4 separate regions of the Homo sapiens genome follow, and all the other regions are linked to region 2. The links are contacts of gene promoters, found by promoter capture Hi-C in blood cells and fetal thymus (Javierre and others, 2016). All regions are on one chromosome and are shown on one strand. The core of a region is centred on a gene start or on the middle of the fragment in contact, and the rest is flanking DNA. Distances in the headings are between cores, read along the strand shown. Region 1 holds the start of TNFSF10 (TNF superfamily member 10). Region 2 holds the start of PIK3CA (phosphatidylinositol-4,5-bisphosphate 3-kinase catalytic subunit alpha). Region 3 overlaps ACTRT3 (actin related protein T3). Region 4 holds the start of NCEH1 (neutral cholesterol ester hydrolase 1).

What was found. The method cuts DNA at HindIII sites, captures the fragments that hold promoters and counts their contacts. A CHiCAGO score of 5 or more calls a contact.
Region 1: a contact is called between the fragment with the promoter of TNFSF10 here and the fragment with the promoter of PIK3CA in region 2, in 1 of 17 cell types (non-activated CD4 T cells). The highest score is 5.7, in non-activated CD4 T cells.
Region 3: a contact is called between a fragment that was not itself captured here and the fragment with the promoter of PIK3CA in region 2, in 2 of 17 cell types (total CD4 T cells and M0 macrophages). The highest score is 5.5, in total CD4 T cells.
Region 4: the fragment with the promoter of NCEH1 here is called in contact with the fragment with the promoter of PIK3CA in region 2 in 1 of 17 cell types (M0 macrophages); the score reaches 5.3 in M0 macrophages.

The regions. Positions count from the first base shown.
Region 1 is chr3:172,521,964-172,524,829 of GRCh38, forward strand. TNFSF10 (TNF superfamily member 10) reads right to left here and starts at 1,467. Exons shown (of 5, transcript NM_003810.4): 1 at 1,290-1,467. The coding sequence starts at 1,421. It also overlaps the pseudogene TBPL1P1. RefSeq lists an enhancer at 1,399-1,448. The HindIII fragment of the contact is 8,260 bases long and covers 972-2,866 here.
Region 2 is chr3:179,146,756-179,149,645 of GRCh38, forward strand. PIK3CA (phosphatidylinositol-4,5-bisphosphate 3-kinase catalytic subunit alpha) reads left to right here and starts at 1,602. Exons shown (of 21, transcript NM_006218.4): 1 at 1,602-1,848. PIK3CA-DT (PIK3CA divergent transcript) reads right to left here and starts at 1,218. Exons shown (of 3, transcript NR_125401.1): 1 at 1,161-1,218. RefSeq lists enhancers at 317-426, 1,037-1,156, 1,966-2,465 and silencers at 1,647-2,116, 2,177-2,226. The HindIII fragment of the contact is 3,906 bases long and covers 1-2,850 here.
Region 3 is chr3:169,764,355-169,767,648 of GRCh38, forward strand. ACTRT3 (actin related protein T3) reads right to left here. Exons shown (of 2, transcript NM_032487.5): 2 at 2,567-3,294. The coding sequence ends at 3,078. It also overlaps TERC. Among named protein-coding and RNA genes, the nearest start is that of ACTRT3, 3.6 kb to the right of the region's middle. RefSeq lists enhancers at 87-176, 335-874, a silencer at 387-646 and promoters at 638-1,504, 638-1,142. The HindIII fragment of the contact is 3,023 bases long and covers 1-2,762 here.
Region 4 is chr3:172,709,379-172,712,388 of GRCh38, forward strand. It overlaps NCEH1 (neutral cholesterol ester hydrolase 1), which reads right to left and starts at 1,689. Exons shown (of 5, transcript NM_020792.6): 1 at 1,469-1,689. The coding sequence starts at 1,606. RefSeq lists enhancers at 1,141-2,340, 1,470-1,739, 1,661-1,955, 2,000-2,139. The HindIII fragment of the contact is 17,687 bases long and covers 1-3,010 here.

The DNA.
Region 1 (2,866 bases), core at 217-2,716, 6.6 Mb before region 2:
TGTTCTCACTCATAAGTGGGAGTTGAACAGTGAGAGCACATGGACACAGGGAGGGCAACACACACACTGGGGCCTGTCGGGGGTGGGAGGCTAGGGGAGGGAGAGCATTAGAACAAATCCTAATGCCTGTGGGGCTTACAACCTAGATGATGGGTTGATGGGTGCAGCAAACCACCATGGCACATGTATACCTATGTAACAAACCTGCACGTTCTGTACACGTATCCCAGAACTTAAAGTAAAATAAAAAAATTTAAAAATAAAGAAATCTGTTTGCCAGAATTCACAAAGAGCAATAGACCTCATGTGAGTTATGAATCTGAACTTCATCCTGCTGTGTGCTATTGGATAAAGACTCTAAGAGCTACATTACAGATTTTTTCGACAGGAAGTATCACAGTAACAAGGCCCTATTTAAAGGCTGTTGCTACTGCTGTGGAACAGATTTACCCATTTGTGTTTGAAAGCAGGAAAGAAATTTTATCATTCACCACTTAATTGGTTAGAATCTCTTACTGTGCACCTTTTAAAACCTGCTGCACATTGGACTCAAAAGGAAAACTGAACCAACGGTAATTGAGGAAATAGACTCTTTTATTTATTCATGGCTACAGTGTAAGCTCCAGTCCCTTTGGATTTTATTCCAAACCTTGTTATAATATAAAAAAGGAAGTTTACAAGACATGTCATTGCTGCTTTTACAAAAGGACATTCTATTTATTTTCGCAGGAATTCTCATGTCCCCATAAGCAGAGCTGTCACAGTGTGCACTACCTTAGGTTGTTTTATTGTTGTCATTGTTATTTTTTTCCATTTTGAGCTAATGTGTTTTATCTGTGAATAGTCTTTTACATTTTTGTATGCTGAAAATGGGCACCAAAGAACCTGTAAAAATTATCTTTTTCAATTGAATGTGCACAAATAAAAGTTTGGAAAAGGAAAACAAAAGAACTACAAAGCATTTAGCAGAAAGCTTTCATGAAGAGTTGCAATGGCTGATATTATAAAATACACATACTTTTAAAAACAAAAAATCCCTCAGGAGTTTTGTTGCCCACATCTGCTAGTAACTAGTGAAGCCAGTTGTGTAACTGCACTTAGTTTACACAATTTCTTGAACTTACAGTTTTGCAAAGACCTCAGTTGTTATGTGATTTAGCAGTTAGAGTGTACCCACAGAGAAAGGAAGCAGGAAAGTCTTCAGAGAGGGGCAAGCTGACATGCAAAGAAGCAGGTAACCAGACATTTGCTAAGCGCCTCGAAGACTGAGTGCACTGCACTGCACTGACCTGCTTCAGCTCGTTGGTAAAGTACACGTAAGTTACAGCCACACAGAGAGACTGCAGGAGCACTGTGAAGATCACGATCAGCACGCAGGTCTGTCCCAGGCTGGGTCCCCCCTGGACCTCCATCATAGCCATGATCCTGTCAGAGTCTGACTGCTGTAAGTCAGCCAGGCAGCCGGTCACTGAAGCCCTTCCTTCTCTATTCTTTTATAGTCAGTGAGGAAATGAAAGCGAATGAGTTGTTTTTCTGGGTTCTGTGGCCTTGGCCCCACCCACATCTATTGAACCTGCAACTGTCCCTCCCCTTTCCTACTGCCCAGGGACAGCTCTTGTCTCAAAGTAGTCGTTGGAAAGGAGGGAAACTGAAAGAAGCTCCTCTCCTTGCCCTCAGGATCCATGCACCCCTTATCTGCACTCACCTCAAGCCCATTTCTCTCTTCTCTTTCTTGCTCTCCTTTTGATAATGTCCTCAGCCAAAGAGGGGAGGGATTTTCTTTGCTTTTCCCTAACATATCCTCATTCTACCACAGAGCTCTAAGCCTCATGGCCTGGCTGTCATAGGCACAAGGCCTGTTTTCTAAATTATAAGATAATTTTTATGACCTGAAACTTCCATATGTGGTTTTTCTCATGCTACTGTGAGGGTGGGAAGAGGGCAGGGTGGGAGTGGATAAAGGAAAATAGAAATACTGTCTCATAGCAATGGTCTTGCTACATAATTCCATCTTGAATGTCAGAATCTAAATATTGACGACTTCTTCCTCTTTGCAAACCTTCAGACACAAATTCTAATCTCCTTCTCAGATCTCCATCCCTACCAAGACAACATGCCTGTGTGTTAGGCTGGACAGGTAGGAAGTAGTTGACACACTCAGAAAGGCAAAGGAAAAAAACATGTGGATGTTTTCCAAAATATTAACCCCATCACAATGTCTCGCTGTCACTATCCTTTTACAGATTAGGAAAAGAAGTTACAGGGAGTTAATTACCCTCAGATTCAGGACCCAGCCCCAAATCTCCCCACTATCAGATGTCATAAGCTGGCCCAGCTGTATGTTGTCTCTATATCTTATTCAGCATTTCTTTCTTTCCTTTTCTTCCTTTCTTTCTTTCTTTCTTTTCTTTTCTATTCTTTCCTTCTTTCCTTCTTTCTTTCTTTCTTTCTTTCTTTCTTTCTTTCTTTCTTTCTTTCTTTCTTTCTCTCTTTCATGTATTTATTTATTTTTTTGACAGAATCTCACTTTATCGCCCAGGCTGGAGTGCAGTGGTGCAATGGCACAATCTCGGCCCACTACAACCTCCACCTCCCAGATTCAAGCAATTCTCCTGCCTCAGCCTCCCAAGTAGCTGGGATTACAGGTGCATGCCACCATGCCCAGCTAATTTTTTTGTATTTTTAGTAGAGATGGGGTTTTACCATGTAGGCCAGGCTGGTCTCGAACTCCTGACCTCAAGTGATCCTCTTGCTTCAACCTCCCAACGTGCTGGGATTACAGGCATGAACCACTGCATGGGGCCATTGTTTAGTTATTCCATTCTTGACCCACTGAGTCAGAGTTTCTGGCAGTGGACTTAGGAAC
Region 2 (2,890 bases), core at 352-2,851:
TTTTATAAGGAAAAATATCCCTAGTATATTTTTCCCCACCAAGGTCTACCTATTAATATCTCATATAACTCTGTGCTTGAAACACAATTTGGGATATATTGCCTTAAAATTTACTTTGACTAGCAATTCAGTGTTCCTTTTTTAAAAAAATCTGTACTCTGGAGTAACAGTGTTCTAAAACTGTTGAAGAACATTGGTTCGAGAAAAACATTTAGAAACACAAACCCCTGGAATGTGAGATGAAAATCCGAGCTAAAGGGAGAAAAAGGACGAAAGAAAGAAAACACAGAAAAGAAAGAAATACAGTCAAGTGAAACTACGACCACAAAGAGGAACAGATCCATCTCATTTACCATTGGGGTATGGACGGACGTGCGGTGTTCGAGAAGACTGTTATTGGTCAGAGTTTTGCTCTAGAGGACAAGTAGGACTGTAACATCTCTAGGATGGGTCACTTCCCAAGCCCTCTATTACTTAAAAATTCAAGGAGGAACCGATGCTGGAGTACTTGTATCTCAGACTTCTAATCACTGCTCCTACGCTTTTCCAATATTACAACAAAAGACCAGTAGGGGGAGAAAAACGCACAGTACCGAACCCTTATCAGTAGTAATCTCAAAAGTCAACAGATTGATTTACTCTCAAGCAAACAGACTTCTAAGGTACGCAGCACCAAGACACTACCTTGAATCAAATCTATAGCCTATATGACATTTCTGAAGTCTCTGTTGGCATTACGCGAAAAATCCCCCACGTCTTCTGAATAGTTAGAATTGAATCCTACAAGCTGCTTCGAATCAGAATTCGATTTAAAAAAAAAAATGAGGGCATAGCAAAAGGTCTCCACGAAGTGAGTCAAAGGACTGCAGAGGGCTGTGACAGTGCATTCCGCCTTCGGGATGGTATACAACTTAAACCATGTCGGCAGAAGAACGCACAGCAACGCTTTGTAAAAAGCATTCTTTCTATTATAGAATCCATAACCACGCTGGTTAGCCACTGACAGCGGCGGTTAGCCACCGCACCTCCTCTCACCCCCGAACTAATCTCGTTTCCTCTATGGGTGTAAAAGTGAAATAACCCACTTGCTCCCAATATTCCTTTCTATATCTCTACCCCAGCTCGCCTGCTGCTCGTAGAAACAAATATACTACACGTACGCTGTCCTAGGATGACACAACACCCTCACTACTGCAGAAGACGGATCATTAAACAAACGTCAGAAGAGCAGCCCCAACTGTACATAAACTTCGGGCGGAAAAGCAAGACGCAGGCGCAGTAGCACATATTGTTACCCTATTTGCCCACTCCCTGCTCCTCCTCGCCTCAATTTCGCTTCCGCTTCTTTGCGCATCTGCTTCCGGGGGATTGTAGGCTCTGCCCCTCCTCAGCTCTTACCCTCTTCTGCCGGAGGAGGGGGGGGGCCGAGGGGGTGGGGAAGAGTTCGTTGTTTGTTTACACGATGTGAGCGGAAAAAGAGACCAATAAAGTTTATTCTGGAAACAAAAGGAAAAAAAAACAGGGGCGACGGAGAAAGGAGTCGGGGGCGGGGGCGTGTGGCGGGGGCTAGCGAGGAGAGGGAGCGAGAAGTAGAAAGCGGCAGTTCCGGTGCCGCCGCTGCGGCCGCTGAGGTGTCGGGCTGCTGCTGCCGCGGCCGCTGGGACTGGGGCTGGGGCCGCCGGCGAGGCAGGGCTCGGGCCCGGCCGGGCAGCTCCGGAGCGGCGGGGGAGAGGGGCCGGGAGGCGGGGGCCGTGCCGCCCGCTCTCCTCTCCCTCGGCGCCGCCGCCGCCGCCCGCGGGGCTGGGACCCGATGCGGTTAGAGCCGCGGAGCCTGGAAGAGCCCCGAGCGTGAGTAGAGCGCGGACTGGCCGGTAGCGGGTGCGGTGGGAATGGGGACCGGGTGGGTGCCGGAGACTCCCGGGCGCGCCCGCCGTGTTGGGCGGAGGCTACGGGCTGGTCGTCTCCCAGCGTCGGCCCGCGGCGGAGTTCGCCTGCGATCGCCGCACCCTCTCCCTCGCCTGCCTCTGGCCTCTCCTAGCTGCAGAGGCGAGGGCTCGCCGCTCCCTCTCCTTTCTCTCTGGCTGCCGCCTCGCTCTTCCTTTGCTTCTACTCCCAGTTTTGGGGACGGGGCGGCTGGAGGTTGAGGAAGTGCGCCCAGGGCCGCCGCCCCGGCCGCGGTGGCTCTGTCTCCCGCGCCCTGCACGCCCACCCAGCCCGCGGGTGGAGGGGCTGCCGCGAGGACTGCGGCTCAAGGGACGCGGGCGCGAAACCGCGAGCTTTTCTTGAGGGGCTGTCACGCCCGAGGACTCCGGCCCCGCCAGCCTGGCGGCCCTGCGTTTGCCTCTTACTGGGTTTAAATCGCCCGGCAGGGGTATGGAAGGAACACCGCTCCCCTCACCCCCGCCAGCTCCCCTCCCACCCTTCCTTTCGAGGTTGTTTTTTCCTTTTAGCTGAGACAAACGCTTAGATCTTTCATTCATAGACCTGAGACACTGACTCATGTGACTTGTCTCTTTACTAAGTGTATTATGTGATGCCTGTTCCATGGCTCTTAAGTGGCTCGGAAAGGTAGGGTAGGGCCCGGGATTGGGCTATGTAAACACCAGACGTTCAGCCGGCGTGTTTTTGACCTCGGCTCGAGGGGTTTATTTTAGGATGCTAAAGGAATAGTGATGGTGGCCAACCGTGTTACCAGACTTGGGAATCGAAAGCTATTTTTTTATGTCAATAATTGAGACTGTTTACATGGTTAAATAAAGGGTAGGGTAAAGGGAGCGCAACAAGAGGGTCTTTCTAGAAAACAGTCTGCATATTCTTTAATGAATTAGAGTTGTGATTTCATCTTGGTGAAGCTTCCTCATTCCAGCACTGCGCCTTTGTGCACATGCAG
Region 3 (3,294 bases), core at 1-2,500, 9.4 Mb before region 2:
GGAACTAAGTTGTAATACAACCATAAAAGGCAACAAAAAGCGGAAGACGGGAGAACCCACGCAGGAACGGCTCCAGGCAACCCCGGCTCACTGCCCATTCATTTTGGCCGACTTTGGAGGTGCCTTCACGTCTCCTGCCAATTTGCAGCACACTGGCCCAGTCAGTCAGGTTTGGGGGTTCACAAGCCCCCATTGCCGGCGAGGGGTGACGGATGCGCACGATCGGCGTTCCCCCCACCAACAGGAAAGCGAACTGCATGTGTGAGCCGAGTCCTGGGTGCACGTCCCACAGCTCAGGGAATCGCGCCGCGCGCGGGGACTCGCTCCGTTCCTCTTCCTGCGGCCTGAAAGGCCTGAACCTCGCCCTCGCCCCCGAGAGACCCGCGGCTGACAGAGCCCAACTCTTCGCGGTGGCAGTGGGTGCCTCCGGAGAAGCCCCGGGCCGACCGCGGCCTCCAGGCGGGGTTCGGGGGCTGGGCAGGCGACCCGCCGCAGGTCCCCGGGAGGGGCGAACGGGCCAGCAGCTGACATTTTTTGTTTGCTCTAGAATGAACGGTGGAAGGCGGCAGGCCGAGGCTTTTCCGCCCGCTGAAAGTCAGCGAGAAAAACAGCGCGCGGGGAGCAAAAGCACGGCGCCTACGCCCTTCTCAGTTAGGGTTAGACAAAAAATGGCCACCACCCCTCCCAGGCCCACCCTCCGCAACCCGGTGCGCTGCCGGGCGAGTCGGCTTATAAAGGGAGCGGCCGCCGACCGCACGGATTGGCCAAGCTGACTCTCGCGGCTCTCGTGAGAGTCACTCTCTCGGGCGGGCTGGTTGGGGGGAACGGGAAATTAAAGTTCCATTTCCGGCCATGAGGAAGGACGTTGCCCTTCCGCACGTCCGGGAAAGGCTTTGCGTCTTTACTTCCGACCTTCTTTAAAGGTGAAACTAACTTGAGGTATCAGAGGGCCTTTTTTCTATCCTCTGCAGACCAGACGCGGTTCACCTCGACTACCTTAAAAATGGAATTCACAGGAAGATTTTAGGGCCTAAGACACAGAACACTAATTCCTAGTTTTGATCATCACATTTTTTGGAGAACTTTGTGAAAATAGATTCCCAGGCAGCACTGACTACAGCAGAATCTTGTCTCGGCTCAGTGGGATGCGTCCGAGTTCCTACCCTGCCCCCTTCTCCTTAGAATGCCTTCTCCAGCCTCTCCTTGAGCAGAGGATGGCTTTAATCAAGTGTAACTACTACATTATTAATCTTAAGGACTGAATCTCCCTTTTATTAGGAAAGAAAGGCGTTTCAATCATTGACTTTGCTTTAAAGTAGTGCTGTGTCTTGATGAGGTAAAAAGAGGGGAGTAATCCACCATAAATTGTAACGATTTTTTTTTTTGAGACGGAGTCTTGCTCTTTCGCCCAGGCTGGATGGAGTCTAGTGGCGTGATCTCGGCTCACTGCAACCTCTGCCTCCCGGGTTCAAGCGATTCTCGTGTCTCAGCCTCCTGAGTAGCTGGGATTACAGGCGCCTGCCACCACGCCCAGCTAGTTTTTGTGTTTTTAGTAGAGACGGGGGTTTCACCATGTTGCCCAGGCTGGTCTCGAACGCCAGGGCTCAAGTGATCCACCCGCTTCGGCCTCCCAAAGTGCTGGGATTACAGGTATGAGCCACCGCACCCGGCCGCGAATTTTTATAATGGCCAGTATAGTGCAGTTTTACATATAAATGACAGGATGATCTTAAAAGTTTTACTCGTATTCAGTTAGATAAACTCCGTGGAGTTGTCGCTGTCGGTCCTCGATCTGAAAGAAAAGTAAAATATCTCCCTCTCCATCTCTCTCCCTCCTTCTCTCTCTCCCATCCCCTTTTTCTTTCATAGCATCTGCCAGGTTGTAAAGTTTTTTACGGACAGAATCTGACTCCTGTTTTTAGCACTATTGCACTTAGCACAGTACCTTACATAGAGTAGATGCTAAATGCTTTGAGTTATATGTCAACACTACCACCATTCTCTTAGCATCCCACATTATCTCAAACCCTTCTTTCCCCTTCATATCTAAGTAGGCACTAAATCTTGTCAGTTTTCATAATTTCTTTTTTTAAATTCCTATTGCTTATAATCTTGAGTACAAGACTTGGCACTTTATATGTGGACTAGTAACTTTCTAACTGATCACCAAATCTCCAGGGCCTTCCTCATTCAATTTATTCTCCAAACTATCACATTCATCATAACATAGTTTCCTTATGGCTCCTGCTTTTAAATCTTTAATTTCTCTCCTTTGCATATTGGATATTTAGCACTTTAAGCCTTTCAGTCCCTGGCCTTCACTTAACCTTGCTAGTCATAGCGCTTGTTCTGCTCTATATGAGCTCTTGACTTGAACAAAATCAGTCTAAACTTAGGCGTGGTGGTGCATACCTGTGGATTCAGTTACTTGGGAGGCTGAGGGCAGAGCCCAGGAGTTGGAGGCTGCAGTGAGCTATGATTGCACTACTGCACTCCAGCCTGGGACACAGGGCAAGACTCTGCCTCTAAAACTAAATAAATGAATAAATACATACATAAACAAAAATTTTAAAAACAAAATCAGTCTATTAAACATGCCCTGAATATGCTTTGTTCATTCTCATCTTTAGCAACTTGTTCATTTTAGTATGCTTGCCTGGATATCTGCGCTCCATCCCAATGCCACCCCTTCCATGATGGCATACCTCTGCTATGGAGTCTCGTTCCTCACCACAGCAACCTTCTTTCCCTAAACTTCAATAAGCTTAAATCTTATCACTCATTTGGCACATAGCATATTGTACCACAAATGCTCTCTTCCAAGGGAAATATAAGCTCACCAACGTCAAGTTATAGAAGAAACACTATGGGAAACATTATTTTAACTTGGTTCTACTCAATAGACATCTGTTCTTGAGCTTCACCATTATTATCCCCCAAACCCATTATAGAAATACAACAGAAATATTGGCATCCCAATAGGTGAAGTATTTTCTCTTCTCCCAGAAACATATAATATCCAAAGTTTTCTGTCACATATACTCAAAACATTTTCTTCCAACCATTTTATCTGTATTTCAGAAGCATCTTTGGTGTACTATGTTGGGTCCAACTTCTTTAAATTCTGCAGCAGTGATCCACATGTCCTGGAAGGCAGACAAGGATGCAAGAATAGAACCTCCCATCCACACTGATATTTTCCTTTCTGGAGGAGCTATAACTTGCACAGCGGTGTTGGCAGGAGCCACCTTTGCTATATCCTTAACTAACCGCTTGTCTAAACCAGGGAAAGAG
Region 4 (3,010 bases), core at 439-2,938, 6.4 Mb before region 2:
GTATTACTTTCAAATTACATAATTTCATGGGGGAGGAGAGGGAATGCAAGGCTTCCTACAACAAGACTGACTTTCTTGACACCAGTGCTAAAGAAGGGGATGATCATTTTCACCATGTCAACATTATAGGAAGCAAGAGGAAAAGAAGGGGGGCAGGGGTCTATAGCTTCATAGACCTTTCCTAAGAGACAAAAGGGGCTTTGGAGGTGAGAATGTGGCTGAATTCAGGAAAAGCAAATCCACGCTAGGAATGTGCTGCAATATCCTAGTAAGGGGACTTTTCATAGGATAAAGCCCCACAGATTATGTAATCCTACACATAATGAGTGGACAGGGAACAGGAACATAAACCCTCTGGGAAAATCATGACTTTTTTAAAATCAGCTTTCTCAGGTTGAAATGATTTTTTTTCTCTTTCTCTAGTTGTCATTTCTGAAAGAAAGAGTTTATAAAAATATTCTGAGATTAAAGCCCAAGGTTGTGGGGAGGGAGGAGGCTTGGTTTTGGAGAAGGTTAGAGTTTAGATAGAGCAGGCTGCTCAGAAATACTGTCCAATCAGAGGGCTCAGCCTTGGCTGCAGACTGTAGTTTAGATTTTAGATTCTCTGACACTAAAAATAATGCCTCTTACCATGGAATAAACCAGAGACAGTTATATTTTCCTGTGTATGGAAGGAATGAACACACGCCCATGATACAGTGGAGAGAAATGTTACCCTCCCAGGTTAAGGCAGGTAACCTCGCTCAGGAAAAGGTTATCTGACAGCCAAGGACATAAAATAAATGCTGCAGGGCAAGCAGAAAACATGCATCATGCAAACCAGGGCTGCCGCCTCCTCACCTCCTTTCAGCCAGCCCAGCCTCCCAGTCCTCTTTCTTGGGCTGAGCTGAGATCTGCCTCGGGTGAAACGAGAGATCCCTATGGTTCCTCAAGTGCTTGGATGGAGAGCCCTGCCTGCTGTCTCCGGGAACGGAGCGCTCCACAGCCTGGGGACATTGCGAGACTGCCCTTGCCTGCTTCTGCTTCTAAGGTGGCTGCATTCCCAGGAACCAGAGCCTGCTTTTCCCGAGCTCTCCTAAAAATATTTATCCTCTGCCGGTCCCTATGGGAGAACGACAGTGTGAAGAAGGGTGGTTTATAAACTGCTTAAGGATTTGCCTTTTGACGTTGCAAACCAAGGAAGAGGAAGATATTTAGGACAGACGAAGGTTTAAACAGTTGTCAAATTCTATTCAAGCACTTCTTCCCCGTCACAAACGCAGACGGGGAAATGCAGATCTAGCCCGCTGCTAGCAAGGAGGCGAATGCGATACCCTGAAAATTCCCGACTGGACCACCTCAAAAAGCGACAGCCTCAATGCATTAGGAAAAACCTGCGTTTTCGTGGAACCCGGCGGAGGAATTTTGTATCCCCTTCAAATATTGCGTAAGAGGAGGAAGAGAGAAGCAGCGCTGGGCTGCACCTCACCACTTGCTGTGCACCCCGGAAAGTGGCGTCCAGCAGCATCAGCTTCCAGGGGTCGGACACGGAGCCAGGCAGCGGGATGTAGACGTAATAGGCGGCCAGCGCCACCAGGGCGGTGAGCAGGACACAGGACGACCTCATCTTGCCCTGGCTCGGCTCGCCAGCGGGCTGGCAAAGAGGAAAGGGCGATACCACCCGGAGACCTCCGGCAACTTTCTGCCCGCGGCAGCTGCTCATTCACGCGTTTCTTATAAGCCCAGGAGCCAATCAGAGGCTGCGTCGGGAGGAAGTTGGAGCGCGGACATGCCCCCTCTACGGTGTCCTTGCAAAGTGTGGCAGTCACTACAGGTTTGAGGAAGGCTCTGTCGCTGCTCTGGCCGTAGGCACAGCGGACTCTGGAGGACACTGGTTTGTACTGCATGCGTGTGAGGATGGCTTTCCTCCTGGAAGGTCTCAAACGGAAAATAGTTTCAGTGTGACGAGTCTCTGGACAAAGCAAGTGGGTCATTCTGACTCAGAGTACTGAGAAAGGATATAAAAATTCTGTTTTCTGGAGCCAGACTTGGAGTGGTTTGTAAGTTCTAGCTGATATATGGCAAAAGAAGATATTAAATTCTTCTGGCTCAAGCAATGAAAGGCCAGTAGTACATCTAGCACCCAAGTCTTGGTTTCTAAATCCTATGCTCCAATAAGAGGAACCACGGCTTTTTGACACAACCTCTGGAGAAAAGGCTGATACCAGGGCTGGGGCTGTAAAGTACAAGATGAACCTGTTGTGCCAGAGATGCGGAAGTGCTCAAAAAATGATAGGAACTGGTCAAAGGTCCACAGCTGCCAGCTTGAAGGGTCTCCCAGTGGCTGAAGCTGGGATAATTTTACCATCAATATAAATCATCATAATGGATAACCCATTGATTAAAATAAAACTCAACAATCTATATTAATATAAATAAATGAGGAAAGAAGAAAGGCTTTTCTTAAAATAGAATGCCAGCTAGTATCCATAGAAAATCATAAATGAATGCTAAAACTAGAGGGTAAAAATTTGACACAGAATTTTGGTCCTTCATCAGAAGATCTCTCCACAAATTACTACAAAGGGAAAAAATAATAACTTTTTATTGGAGAAACGTGTGGATATCACCTGAAAAATTCTTTCAGTGAGTCAATGGTAGCAGAAATACACTTAAACCCAGATTTCTTGTTAATGATTGGGGGTGAGGAGGGGTGGGTGAGTACTGAATGGGAGAGAGAAAACTTCACTAGCAAAATTTCAACCAGAAATCCAGAAGGAAAACAGTTAGAAGACCTGTTTCAAGAAAGTGGTAGGATGACAACTCCAAACTTATTGATGAAGGTCTTAAAACACCTAGTATATATAATTATGCATCTTAAGATGGTAATTTTAATTTAATCAAATTAATAGAAGTGAAATAACCATAAATTTGGTTCTGATAATGAGATTTTTAGGAAACAGTTGGCTTCTTCTTCAACATTGAAGGAAAACTGATAAGAAGGGCACACTTTCATGGTATTTCAAGCAAG